Linked DNA regions of Homo sapiens: region 1 is linked to region 2. The links are contacts of gene promoters, found by promoter capture Hi-C in human tissues and cell types (Jung and others, 2019). All regions are on one chromosome and are shown on one strand. The core of a region is centred on a gene start or on the middle of the fragment in contact, and the rest is flanking DNA. Distances in the headings are between cores, read along the strand shown. Region 1 has its middle 27 kb from the start of UGT2B11. Region 2 holds the start of UGT2B28 (UDP glucuronosyltransferase family 2 member B28).

Region 1 (3,335 bases), core at 122-2,621, 39 kb before region 2:
TCGTGTATAGGCAGAGCTCACTGGTTGCACAGAAGACAAAGGCTTTGGACTTTGCTTCCTTACCTGTGCTTGCAGTTTGATTTCCTCCAGACTTATTTTTGGACTTTGCTTCCTTACCTGCGCTTGCAGTTTGATTTCCTCCAGACTGTTATTTTTGGGGGAGGGCTTCTACCAAGAACCTTGCCCTAACTATCTGCCTAACTGGTTCCTTATTTTCTCTTCTCATTAATTTCTCTCTCCATATGTGTATCACCTCCATGAGGGCTCCAAACACTGAGTGATCAGCTCTTACATACATTTGCTAGATGAATTTTTTAAACTCATTGTGTTGGGGGGGTTCTCTGTTTGGCGACTCTGTATGGTGAAGGTTTAACACCCTAGACATTCCAAATAGGCCCCTTTGGCTTGGAGGAGCAAAACGTCCTTTCTCTTCATTGCTGAGGAGGTCAGTCTCTCATCTCTCACTGATCTACAAAAATAATAGTTCAGTTCCTCAAGCAAATGTGCAGACAAGCCATTTGAGCTTATCTTTGGGAGAAAAGGCAATGGAGAGGACCCTTTAGAATGTACTCCTGAACTATAATTAAGATTCTAAAAGACAACCTCCCAGGAGAAAAAAAAATTCAGAATAAACCAAAGACTATCAACCAAAGGGAGGTCCAGAGCTCAAGAGGACTTACCAGTCCCACTGGAGAAGAAGCTCAAAATTGGAGAGGCATTCAGTGGGCCTCTGTTGCTACCTTAGCTTCAAGTTCAGGCACGTTTTATGGTGTCCTGAGTTTTGTCTGAGGCCCCACATGTTCAAATGTCAAGTTGTTATGATGAAAAGAGTCAAACATTTTAAAATATTTAAAGAGTTTTATTCTGAGCCAAATATGAGTCAATGATGGCCTGCGACATAACCCTCAGGAGATCCTAAGAACATTTCCCCATAGCGCTCAGGCTACAGCTTAGTTTTATACAATTTACAGAGATATTAGTCATCAATCAATACATGTAAGTTATACATTGACTTGGTCTGAATAGGCAGGACAACTGAGAGCAGGGGTTTCCAGGTCATAGGCTAATTCGAGGATTTTCTATTGGCAATTGGTTGAGTTATATTGTTGTCTAAAGATATAGAATTAATAGACAAGAATGTCTAGGTTAAGATAAGGGGCTGTGAATACCAAGGTTTTATCATGCAGATAAAGCGGTCAGGCAACAGGCTTGAGAGAATATAGATTGTAAATGTTTCTTATCAAATGTAATGAGTCTGTTCTATTGTCTTTAAGGTCTTTAAGGTCTGTGTTGATGGTAGTGCTTGTAAGATTTTCCTGAATTCAAAAAGGGAGGAGGGTATAATGAGGCATGTCCTATCCCACCACCCCACTTCCCATCATTGTCTGAACCAGTTTTTCAGATTAAGTTTGAAATGCTCTTTGCTGAGAGTAAGGGTCCATTTAGGTGGTTGGGGATGCTTAAAATTTTATTTTTGGTTTACATCTACATAGAGTTGTTGAATAATTAGAACATAATGATAATATTTTACCTAATGTCATTATTAGCCTTCTGCTTATTAACACAGAAACCAAAACCGTGTATTTTCTCCTATACATTTTTTCCTGTCTCAGATATTATCAGTAAATACAAATTTCAAATTAATTTCTCACATTTACTATTAACAATTTATGTTTTATTCCATAAGGTTGACATGTCTCAGTAACTAATATACAATTTTTATCATTTTCCCTGTTTTTAAACTCTTATCTTTACATATCACTCTATGTTGAGATGCAAGAATTTCTTGCTAAAGAAAAGCTTGATCTTGCGACTGTCCTTTAAAACTTGAGTAAATAATAATTTGCCCATAAATTATCATTCAAACTAATAATTGTTTATTTAAAACTAATTTCTCCTATTTCAAACTGACTTTGTTCTGTAACATCCTGCCCTGAACTTTCTCTGTGGTCACTTCTCACTAGAATGACTTTTAAATATCCTATACTTTCGTCATGCTTCTATTGATTGTGAAATGCTTCCTTTGACAACAATAAATCCTAATGAAGCTTTCATCTCACCTCCTAAGTCAAATGTCTTACTAAAGCTTTTATTAATTATCAGATATTAAAGCAATTGTGCATTTTTCTCCTCTGAAATACTGAACACTTTGCACTTATTATATAAAATTAATAAAAATAGTTACCTATGTCTCCAAGTGTATTCCCAGTAATTCTTTGTATTGTCCTTGTGAGCAAAGGATGTGAAACATGAGTTCTTCTAAACAATCTGGCACCTTGGATTTAGTGTGGAATGAATGTAAGTGCGGTTGTGTGCATATGTTTCTGCACATGAATTATTAAATCTAAAGAATTTAAAAAAAATTTCTTTATCATCAATCCAGATAATAAAAGTATCTTTATGTGTTTTATTTCTAAGCTCTAGAAGGTTGGAACAAATTTTCCCTGATACATTGCAACATTGCATTTCTTTTTGATATCTTCAATAAATGTGAAGCTGGCAACCAACCAATGAAGTTTATTTACTCTTAAAATATTAATTTTTAACTTCTGTGCTTATATTGTCATTTCAATTTCATGCTTAGTAACTACAAAACTATTGCAGATCATTGTGTGAGGGAAATGTCATCATGAGGCCCAAGAAGTCAGCTTTGGTATTTCTGCTCCTGCAACTCTTCTGTGATGGCTGTGGATTCTGGGAGAAGGTCCTGGTGTGGCCCTGTGACATGAGCCATTGGCTTAATGTCAAGGTCATTCTAGAGGAGATCATAGTGAGGAGCCATGAGGTAACAGTATTGACTCACTCAAAGTCTTTGTTAATTGATTACAGGAAGCCTTCTGCACTGAAATTTGAGGTGGTCCATATGCCATAGGATAAAACAGAAGAAAATGAAATATTTGTTGACCTAGCTCTGAATGTCTTCCCAGGCTTACCAGCGTGGCAATCAGTCATAAAATTAAATGTTTTTTGTTGAAATGAGGAACTTCAAAAATGATGTGTGAGAGCATTATCTACAATCAGACACTTATGAAGAAGCTACAGGAAACCAACTACGATGTAGCACTCATAGACCCTGTGATTCCCCGTGGAGACCTGATGGCTGAGTTGCTTGCAGTCCCTTTTGTGCTCACACTTAGAACTTCTCTAAGAGGCAATATGGAACAAAGCTGTGGGAAACTTCCAGCTCCACTTTCCTATGTACCTGTGCCTATGACAGGACTAACAGACAGAATGACCTTTCAGGAAAGATTGAAAAATCCAATGCTTTCAGTTTTCTTCCACTTCTGGATTCAGGATTATGACCATCATTTTTGGGAAGAGTTTTAGAGTAAGGC
Region 2 (3,650 bases), core at 868-3,367:
TATACTAGAAACTCTTCATATACAATTAAATTATCTCTTGTTCTGGAGACAGCCACATTTACAATAAGAATGAAATTTATTATTCACACATGCAAACACAAAATCATTCATCCTTTTCTTTATTCACTTGCTTTCCAAAACCTCTATTGTCAATACTTAAATCATTGTGACATTGATTGATATTGATATGTACCAAGTTAGAGAAAGTTATAAAGAAAGATAGCATTTTAACAAGTTGTCTAAGAAATGGACTTTTTTGTTTCTTATGCTGACAGTTGTATTCTAGCTCTGAGTCCTGTTAGAATGTGCTGGTGTGGCCGATGAAATAGTCTTTGTATCAATTTAATGTTGATAGTTGATGAACTTGCTCAGAACACCGTGAGGTAACTGTGCTTGTCACCTTCAGCTTCCATCCTCATTGATTCCAACAATCTGCTGTTAAATTTGAGGTTTATCCCACATCTTTTACTCAGAAGGAACTTGATTTCATTTTTATGAAGTTGATCAAGATGTGGACATATAAGTTTCCAAAGAGTACATTGTTGACATATGATTCAAAGATGCAAAAACTACATATCATGAATGTTCTGATACTGTTCAAAAGCTCTGTGAGTATGCTGTTTTGAACAAGAAAATTATGAGGAACAACAAGATTCCAGAATTTATATCATTCTTGCAAATGTAAGTTCTCAGTAGTGAGCTGCTATCTGAACACCTTAATCTGTTAAACATTTGTTATACATTTGGTCTACAATCATCAATTTACAACTGGCAGTATGTACCAAGAACTCTGTGGAGGACTTACATTACCTCCTTCTGATGTAACTGTTGTCATATCAGAACTTAGTACCAATATACATTTGTAGAAAGGTGAAAAATCTGTTGCATTTTCTTCATTTTGACTTTGCATTTGAGATTTTTAACAGAAAGAAGTGGGATCAGTTGTACAGTGAAGTATTAGGTAAGTTAGTACTTAATTTATTCACTTTTCCCTCCAATATGTGGAAGGAAACCTTCCTTTTTGGGGTCTGTTAGAGTGTGTTTATAAATTGAAGTAAAAAATAACCTTTTTGGTTATGTGAAAGACAAGGGTGGGCAAGGTTGTGGAGACATTGAAACCCTCATACATTGTTGGTGAGAATAGAAAATTATTCACCCACTCTGAAAAAGTCTAGCAATTCCTCAAAAGATTACACTTACATTTACCACATAATTCAGTAATTGCCTTTCTAGGCATATCCCCAAGAAAAATAAAAACATGTCCACAGAAATCATGCACATCAATGTTAAACAATGCTATTCATAATGACCAAAAGTGGAAGTAAATCAGTATCCATCAACTATTAAATGAATAAATAAATTGTGTTTATAAATAGCATCTGATAACTATTTGGCAATAAAAATGAAGTCCTTATTTACACTATTCTATGGATGGTCCTTTAAAAACATTAAACTAAGTAAAGGAAGCCAGCCACAAAAGACCACATATTATATCGTTCCATTTACTTTTAGAAAGAGCCTGAATAGGTGTATTTCTAGAGGCAGAAATTAGATTACTGGTTGCCCAGTGCAGGGCGGGTGCAGAAATTTGGTGGGGAGATGAGAGCTAATACACAGGAGTTTTTTGTTTTTTTAGATAAAACTGATTGTTATGTTGGATGCACAAGTCTGTGAATTTACAAGGAAATACTTAATTTTAAATACTAATTGATGAATCATATGGTATTTGAATTATACTTCAACAAAGTTTTACAAGATATTCCTTGAACCACGATATTCAAAAACGCTATTTGCATTGTACGATCACTTCATCTCTTACTCTGTGTCAAGGGCCCTGCAGGACTCTCTCACTTGCCACTATTCTTGACACTATTATAAAATAGGTTACATAAAACAGGGTACTTGCAAGGTCATTAATCTTAGGTGGATGACAGCGAATATAAACATAAAAGAAACATCAAACATCCTTGAGTAAATATGAAGTAATCAAACTTTGTCTCCTTGTCATCCATGTACTCAGGATGCTCCTATAATATATTTACTTTGGATTGAAGGAGTTATGTTTTAACTTGATTGATTTATCTCTGTATATAAGTATGAGAAAGAAACAGTGACTTGAAAAGAATGATTGCATTGCACCAGGATGGCTCTGAAGTGGACTTCAGTTCTTCTGCTGATACATCTCGGTTGTTACTTTAGCTCTGGGAGTTGTGGAAAGGTGCTGGTGTGGACCGGTGAATACAGCCATTGGATGAATATGAAGACAATCCTGAAAGAGCTTGTTCAGAGAGGTCATGAGGTGACTGTACTGGCATCTTCAGCTTCCATTCTTTTTGATCCCAATGACGCATTCACTCTTAAACTCGAAGTTTATCCTACATCTTTAACTAAAACTGAATTTGAGAATATCATCATGCAACAGGTTAAGAGATGGTCAGACATTCAAAAAGATAGCTTTTGGTTATATTTTTCACAAGAACAAGAAATCCTGTGGGAATTTCATGACATATTTAGAAACTTCTGTAAAGATGTAGTTTCAAATAAGAAAGTTATGAAAAAACTACAAGAGTCAAGATTTGACATCATTTTTGCAGATGCTTTTTTTCCTTGTGGTGAGCTGCTGGCTGCGCTACTTAACATACCGTTTGTGTACAGTCTCTGCTTCACTCCTGGCTACACAATTGAAAGGCACAGTGGAGGACTGATTTTCCCTCCTTCCTACATACCTGTTGTTATGTCAAAATTAAGTGATCAAATGACTTTCATGGAGAGGGTAAAAAACATGATCTATGTGCTTTATTTTGACTTTTGGTTCCAAATGTGTGATATGAAGAAGTGGGATCAGTTTTACAGTGAAGTTTTAGGTAAGAATTTGTTTAATCGGGAACTTGAAGATCTAACTTATTTGTGTCTTTGAAGCAGAGCTTATATAAAGCCATAAAGTCAGGGAAGTGGAGTTTTTGGTAAGTGAATTTATGAAATGAAAATACAAGATGATCTATCAATCTCACAAACATTATAGAAAAGCTTAAATTATAAGGTCTGTTAAAACCCTGTGGCCATCACTCATACAGAACACCCCAGGAAATCATAAACCTATATATTAGTACACCTAAGACTTTAAGCAATTACACATCTGTTTTACTATATAATGTTTTAGATCTTAAAAACAGTGAAATCCATCAAGTAACATCTTACTGAATGCATAGATTTAGAATGAGTAATTACACATTTTTCTACAACTATCTATATAACTGCAGAAAGTTTTCCTTGTAAACCTCAGTTTTCTTTTTTAGGTATTAAAAGATATTCCCATGTTTCCAGAAGGTTTCCTTCACAGTAGAGAGAGATAATGTCCACATCTCAGATGCAAAAGTTAATCAGGGTAATTTGAAGTTTCTAATGTTTCTATACTCCTTCACTAAAGAATTGGAATTCATTCATTTAAAGTCCAATTATCTTGTTGAAGTGTGAAGGTTGTTATATCTATATAGTTTATTTGAAACTATGTCTCTTTATTTAAAAATATGAGACAGATTAAGGTTGAGTACAGATCTCTATTTCAATAATTTCTCAAAAATTTCTAGCTATAATTTACAAATATATTTACTTAAATGATAATATTATTAAGATCTTAGCTCAAATCCAAA

Evidence for each region. Contacts are between HindIII fragments. The study calls those that stand out against the background at their distance.
Region 1: a fragment that was not itself captured here is called in contact with the fragment with the promoter of UGT2B28 in region 2 in 2 of the 25 tissues and cell types used here (heart left ventricle and mesenchymal stem cells).

The regions. Positions count from the first base shown.
Region 1 is chr4:69,239,999-69,243,333 of GRCh38, forward strand. It overlaps the pseudogene LOC100533845. Among named protein-coding and RNA genes, the nearest start is that of UGT2B11, 27 kb to the left of the region's middle. The HindIII fragment of the contact is 4,183 bases long and covers 1-3,335 here.
Region 2 is chr4:69,278,358-69,282,007 of GRCh38, forward strand. It overlaps UGT2B28 (UDP glucuronosyltransferase family 2 member B28), which reads left to right and starts at 2,118. Exons shown (of 6, transcript NM_053039.2): 1 at 2,118-2,864. The coding sequence starts at 2,144. The HindIII fragment of the contact is 10,884 bases long and covers 1-3,435 here.